Linked DNA regions of Homo sapiens: region 2 is linked to region 1. Evidence: promoter capture Hi-C in human tissues and cell types (Jung and others, 2019). All regions are on one chromosome and are shown on one strand. Each heading gives the region's core, a stretch centred on a gene start or on the middle of the fragment in contact. The rest is flanking DNA. Distances are from core to core; before and after follow the strand shown.

Evidence for each region. The method cuts DNA at HindIII sites, captures the fragments that hold promoters and counts their contacts. A contact is called where the count stands out against the background at its distance.
Region 2: the fragment with the promoter of PYGM here is called in contact with the fragment with the promoter of MACROD1 in region 1 in 1 of the 25 tissues and cell types used here (small bowel).

Annotation. Positions count from the first base shown.
Region 1 is chr11:64,164,788-64,167,732 of GRCh38, forward strand. MACROD1 (mono-ADP ribosylhydrolase 1) reads right to left here and starts at 1,326. Exons shown (of 11, transcript NM_014067.4): 1 at 910-1,326. The coding sequence starts at 1,207. It overlaps LOC105369339 (a long non-coding RNA gene), which reads left to right and starts at 1,451. Exons shown (of 3, transcript XR_950187.3): 1 at 1,451-1,802. RefSeq lists an enhancer at 845-1,345 and silencers at 883-982, 1,113-1,192, 1,453-1,712. The HindIII fragment of the contact is 20,905 bases long and covers 1-2,945 here.
Region 2 is chr11:64,758,685-64,761,430 of GRCh38, forward strand. It overlaps PYGM (glycogen phosphorylase, muscle associated), which reads right to left and starts at 1,290. Exons shown (of 20, transcript NM_005609.4): 1 at 972-1,290; 2 at 1-20. The coding sequence starts at 1,214. RefSeq lists enhancers at 1-699, 700-1,404, 1,405-2,107. The HindIII fragment of the contact is 11,504 bases long and covers 1-2,746 here.

The sequences.
Region 1 (2,945 bases), core at 76-2,575:
CACTTTTGAAAGGGGATCCAGCCGGGAAGAGTCACAGGATCCCAGGAGGCAGGCCCTGAAAGGCAGGGGCAGCTGGGTGCCCGGCAGGGCTATTTGGGGCTCAGTAGCGGCAGCTTGGGTTCTCTCTCTCCCCAGGCCCCAGACTCATGCCCCCTCCAGGAGCAAGAGGAAGTGGTGTGATTCTTGAAGGGTGTCATCAGTTGTCACAGGGACAAGACCCCACCTCTGCCCTGCTCCTCTAACCTCTGTTCCTGGCATGAGCAAACTGCTCACAAGTGGCCAGAGGCCAGCGAGAAGGGGAAAAGGGCGCCAGACCACGTGCCCAGGAAGGCATCAGAGTGCGGGCTTGGGGTGGGGTGGAGGCAGGACAGGCCAGCCCAGGAAGGTCACTCTGTGAGGTTACGTGCCCCACCAGGTGGGACGCCAGCCCCGGAGCTGTTCCCTCAGCCCCATTCCCGAACACTTAAGAACCACACTGTGCAAAGTTTGGAGAGTCCGGGATCATAACCTCCACTTTGCCACCAGCTCCGAGTGACCTTGGGGAAGCCAGCTGTGGCACTCGGCCTCAGTTTCCCTCCTGCACAGGGAAGGAAGTTGGTAGGTCCTGCACAATCTCTGGGGTGCCCTGTGACCCATTCCAATGGGGTAAGGAAGGCCGCCTTCCTCACGCTGCCCCCTGCGTGGACACTTGGACCTGGTCTGGAGTGAATTGTTCTGTGGGGCTGGGAACACGCGCGGGGGCGGGGGGGGCTGTCAATGGGGAGGAGGGGTCCGTTCCAGGGCAGATGGGGCCTCAACTTCCCCAGGTCTCTCGGGTGGAAGGGGCTGCTCGCTCGTTGGGGGCCGCCCAGCCGGGAAGCTCCACGTGAGGCCGCCCTCTCCCTCGCGCCCCCTCGTGCTTACACTTACATTTCGCCTCCTTCCAGTCGGTGGAGGTGCTCAGGTCCACCTTCGCCGCCATGGCCAGGGGGGCCCAAGTGCGCACCCCGGCTGTCCGCCCCACCGCCGCCGCCCCCCACGCCCCAACTCCCGCCGAGGTCCGCGCACGGCGGCCGAACACGCCCAGGAACGCCGGGGGACCGCACGTGCTGCTGCGGGTCCTCGTGGCACCCGCCAAGTGTCCGGGCCGGGGGCGCGGGGGGACGAGCAGCTGCCCCGCCGCGCGCAGCTGTGCCAGGCGGCCGGACAGTCGGCTCTGTAGAGACATGAGCGGGCGGCGCGGGACGGCTCTCCGCCCACTTGGACTCTATTTACGGCGCTCGGGAGTGTCTCTCCCTTATTTACTCTGGGACCGGGTGGCGACTGCCAGCCAGCGGCGACCTGCTCGGAGCCAGCGGGAGGCGCGGCCAGAAAACCCGGGAGCGCCGCTGGGCACCCTGGAACTTGTAGTCCGGGCCGCCGGATGGGCCCACGCACTCGTATACACACGTGCGCGCCCGCCCGGGCTCCCAGTGTCGCGGATGGAGCCCCGCCTGAGCCCTTCGACTTCTCCCGTGGCCGCCAGGCGCCTCCCCTCCGCGAGACCTCGGCCGCCTCTAACTTTCTGGTTGGCTGAGCGTCGGCTTCCCCGGCACGGGCTGAAGCCCCCGGGCCTTCCACGCAGCCCCGGGCCCCTCTGCCGCTCGGCCCCGCGGCGGAGCAGGCGCGCCGGCCGCTGCGTATCGAGCTGGGAGAGCCTGGCGCGGCTTCCGCAGTGCCGAGCGTTTTGCAGCCTGGGAGACCCGGGCTTCTCTCCCCGCGGGTCAGCAGGGCACCGCCTCCACACCCCAGCCTGCCCTCCTAGGGACAGGTGCGACGAACGGGTAAATCCGGTTTGGGGACTTCTCCCCAGAGCCTCTGCCTTCTAACAGCCCCGGGGCCAAGGCTCAGCTGGAGCAGAATCTAGGACAGCTGGGGAGGAGAGTCGAGGGTGGAAATAGTGGAATTTGGAGGCAGGAAACTTAGGCTTCAAGTGGCGTTCAAGGGTGGAAGGATTGGGGTGATGTTTTTGTGTGTGTCTGTGTGTTTTTTTTTTTTTTTCTTTTCTTTTTTAAACAAAAACCGGCCGGGCGCGGTGGCTCACGCCTGTAATCCCAGCACTTTGGTAGGCCGAGTTGGGTGGATCACGAGGTCAGGAGTTCGAGGCCTGCCTGGCCAACATGGCGAAACCCCGTCTCTACTAAAAATACAAAAATTATGCAGGCGTGGTGGTGCATGCCTGTTAATTACAGCTACTCGGGAGGCTGAGGCAGGAGAATCACTTGAACCCGGAAGGCGGAGGTTGCGGTGAGCCGAGATCGTGCCATTGCACTCCAGCCTGGGTGACAGAACGAGACTCTGTCTCAAAGAAAACAAAACAAAAAACACGAGGATGGATTTTTAAGTACTTTTATATATTTTTATGTACTATTAATATTACTTTATGATAAATATAATGAATACAGGCCGGGCCATTATAATAATATAATGAATGTAATAATGAATAATGAATAAGTGCTCACACCTGTAATCCCAGCACTTTGGGAGGCTGAGGCAAGAGGATTATTAGAGGCCAGGAGTTCAAGACCAGCCTGGGCAATATAGTGAGACCCCCTCATCTCTACCCGCCCCCACACAAAAAAATTACCCTGGTATGGTGGTAGACACTCACCTCTAGTCCCAGCTACTCCAGAGGCTGAGGCAGGCAAACACTTGAGCCCAAGGGTTCAAGGCTACAGAGAGCCATGATGGCACCACTGCACTACAGCCTGGACGACACAGTGAGACCCTATCTCAAAAGTAATAATAATAATGAATATATTTTAATACGAGGGAGGAACGAGCCAGGGTTTCAGAGAAGGTTCTAGTACTAGTGTTGCTGCCCTAGGGTACCCTAGCCCCTTAAGACTCAAACTTCTTGAGCTGTCAGCTAGGAATAAGAGAGTCTGGCTGGTTGCAAACCTGCTCCTGTGCTCCAGGCCTCTGAC
Region 2 (2,746 bases), core at 40-2,539, 590 kb after region 1:
AAAGACAGGTAGTAGATCCTCTGCCCAGAGAGACGGATGGGCAGGGAATGGGGTCAGGGCCACACACCAACACTCAGCCAGGCCCAGCCACGCCTGGACCTCTGGCCCGCCTGCCCTGCTCAGCAGTCCCATCCCTGTCCCCAATTTGTTTCTCCCTGTCTCAGGCTTTGGGGCCCAGCGGTTAAGGTTCTGGTCCCAGCATTCCTCTGACTTTGGACAAATCACTCTCTTTGGCCTCAGTCTCCTCATCTGGGAAATAGCGCTGGCCATACCCACTTCAGGGACTGAGGTACTCGGGAGAATGGGCACCCCTTCCCCCTGCACACACCCCCAGAGAAAAAAGTCATTTGCTCAAGGTCACACAGTGGCTAGAGACTGGGCTAGAGACTGTCACCTCCCATCCTTGCACTGTCCAGTTCCCCTTGGCCCTCAAGCCTCAATCCCAAGGAGACCCAGAGGCACCAGAAACTAGGATGCTGCCAGTGCCTGGTCTCCCAGTTTCCTGGGTCCCCTCCTGGGCCGTCTGCCCGCCCCTCCCCCACTCCCCACCGAGGCGTGTCAGGTTGCTGACATTTACCAGTGACCCCACCGGACACTTGATCTCTGCCGCCCCAGCTGCCCCAGCCCCGCCTGCTGCACAGGCACACCGCGCATACATGCAGCAACTGATGTGTCCTTCCACCTGGGCCCAGCCAGGCCACAGGCGCCGTCCTGCCCACCAGCACCCACTCCAACCTTCTCCGAGTGGGCACTGACCCTTTGCAGCCAGCCCACCTGCTCTGAGCTCCCTGACCCCCACTCCTGCCCCAGGTTTCTCCCTCAGATTGTCCCAGCACCCCTTGTGCCTGGCACCCCTGGATTCTCCACCCCCAAGAACCTAGAGTGACGAGGGGCAGCCACTTAAGTCAAGATCGCCAGCTCCCTGGCAGCGCCTTCAGCCCATACCCCCACCCCAGGCTCCCCAGCAGCACCTTGGGGTCCTTCTCATAGTAGTGCTGCTGCGTGCGGATCCAGCGCCCCACGAGGTGGTCGCGCACGGTATGGGCCAGAGCAAAGTAGTAGTCTCGTGGGGTGGCCACATTGCGGTCCTTTACGAGTGTGAAATGCAGGTGCCGGTTGAAGTTCTTTTTCAGCTCAGTCACGTTCTCCACGCCGGCCAGGCCACGCACACTGATTTGCTTTCTTTTCTCTTGGTCTGACAGGGGCCGGGACATGGCTGCAGGAGGGCGGGCCGGACTGGACTGATGGTAGAGGGGACGGCGGCCTCAGCACTGCCTCCAGCCAAGGAGTGGAGCTCCCCAGCCTCAAGGGGATTTAAAGCCTGGCTCTGGGCAGCACGCCCCGCCTCCCCTGCAATGGGAGGGTCTTGGCCTGGCAGCTCAGGGAGCTATTTTGAGGGCAAGGGGAGGAGAGGAGAGGGGAGGGAGAGGTGAGCTCCACTTGGGCCGCCAAGACTGGCCTGGCTTGTTCACAGGCCTGTGCTGACCCACTTCCTCCAGGCCTTGCACATGGTCTTCTGTCCCTTGTCCCTGCCTTTTGGAGGGTTGGATACAAGAAGGAGCAGGCAGAGTGCTGGATTGGGGAGCTGTCTGTCAGTGGCTGAACCAGGATGGGAGGCCATGTGTTGTGGCAAAAGGAACCAGGACCCCCTGCAGGCTGTGGTGCAGGAGCCAAGTCAGTGTCCCCTGACGGAAGAGGTGCAACTAGCAGAGGCCACTGGATGTCTTTGAGAAAGGGGCCCACGACCCTGCATTGCAGGGGTGGTGTGAGGGAGGTTGTGTGAGGCAGGGCCACAGCCCTCACTCCACCCCCACCGAAGCTGAGCAGCTCTAGGCTCCCCCTGTTGCTGTCCCTCAAGGAGCCCTGAAGTGACCTTTTGGAGAGGGATGCTCAGGTTACTGGCCAGCATTGGCGGGAGGCCGCTAGCCTGCAGCACGGGGCCCTGGGAACTGTAGTCCTATAGGCCCTCGGCGGTGGGAGAAACTGAGGCATTCCCCACTCCATCATCATACTGGTTTAATGACAGTAAGTTCTCCCTGTGATTCCACTGCTTAGGAAGTGATTAGAGGCCTTCTTTCACTTCTTCCTGCCACCTGGGGCCACACTCTGAGCAGGATTTTGTAAACCAGCTCTGTGACCTGGCCTATAAAATGGGTGCCTAATCTGTACCTCGAGGACCTCACCCCATTTGTGTGCATAGCCCCACAGCTTTGAGCCCTTCCCTGGAGGCTTTGGCTATCCTCCCATTCACTGCTGTGTTCTGGCCCCAGCACTGACTTGCTGTGTGACCTCAAGCTGGTTGCTTTACCTTTCTGAGCTTTGGATTCCTTCACCAAATTTAGACTCTCCAATGAGAAAAAAAAAAATCCCTGCCTCTCAGCTGCTGCCTCCTCATCTTGTGAGGGCAGGCTTCGGATCCTGCTGTTCTTTAAGAGAAAGGAACCAGGACCTTGTGCTAGTTCAAAGGCTGTTTGGGCCTCCCGGGTGGTGGGCCGGTGGAGGGGAAGAGCTGGGTGTTCTGTTCTGAAGGCCAAGGAAGCAGGTCAAAAGCCTGGACAGCTGCAGGATACTATTGAGAGCCTGGTTCGGAGAAAGCCAAGCTGTTTCTGAGAACTTTTTTTTTTTTTTTTTTGAGGTAGAGTTTCATTCTTGTCGCCCAGGCTAGAGTGCAATGGCATGATCTCAGCTCACTGCAACCTCCGCCTCCTGGGCTCAAGCAATTCTGCCTCAGCCTCCTGAGTAGCTG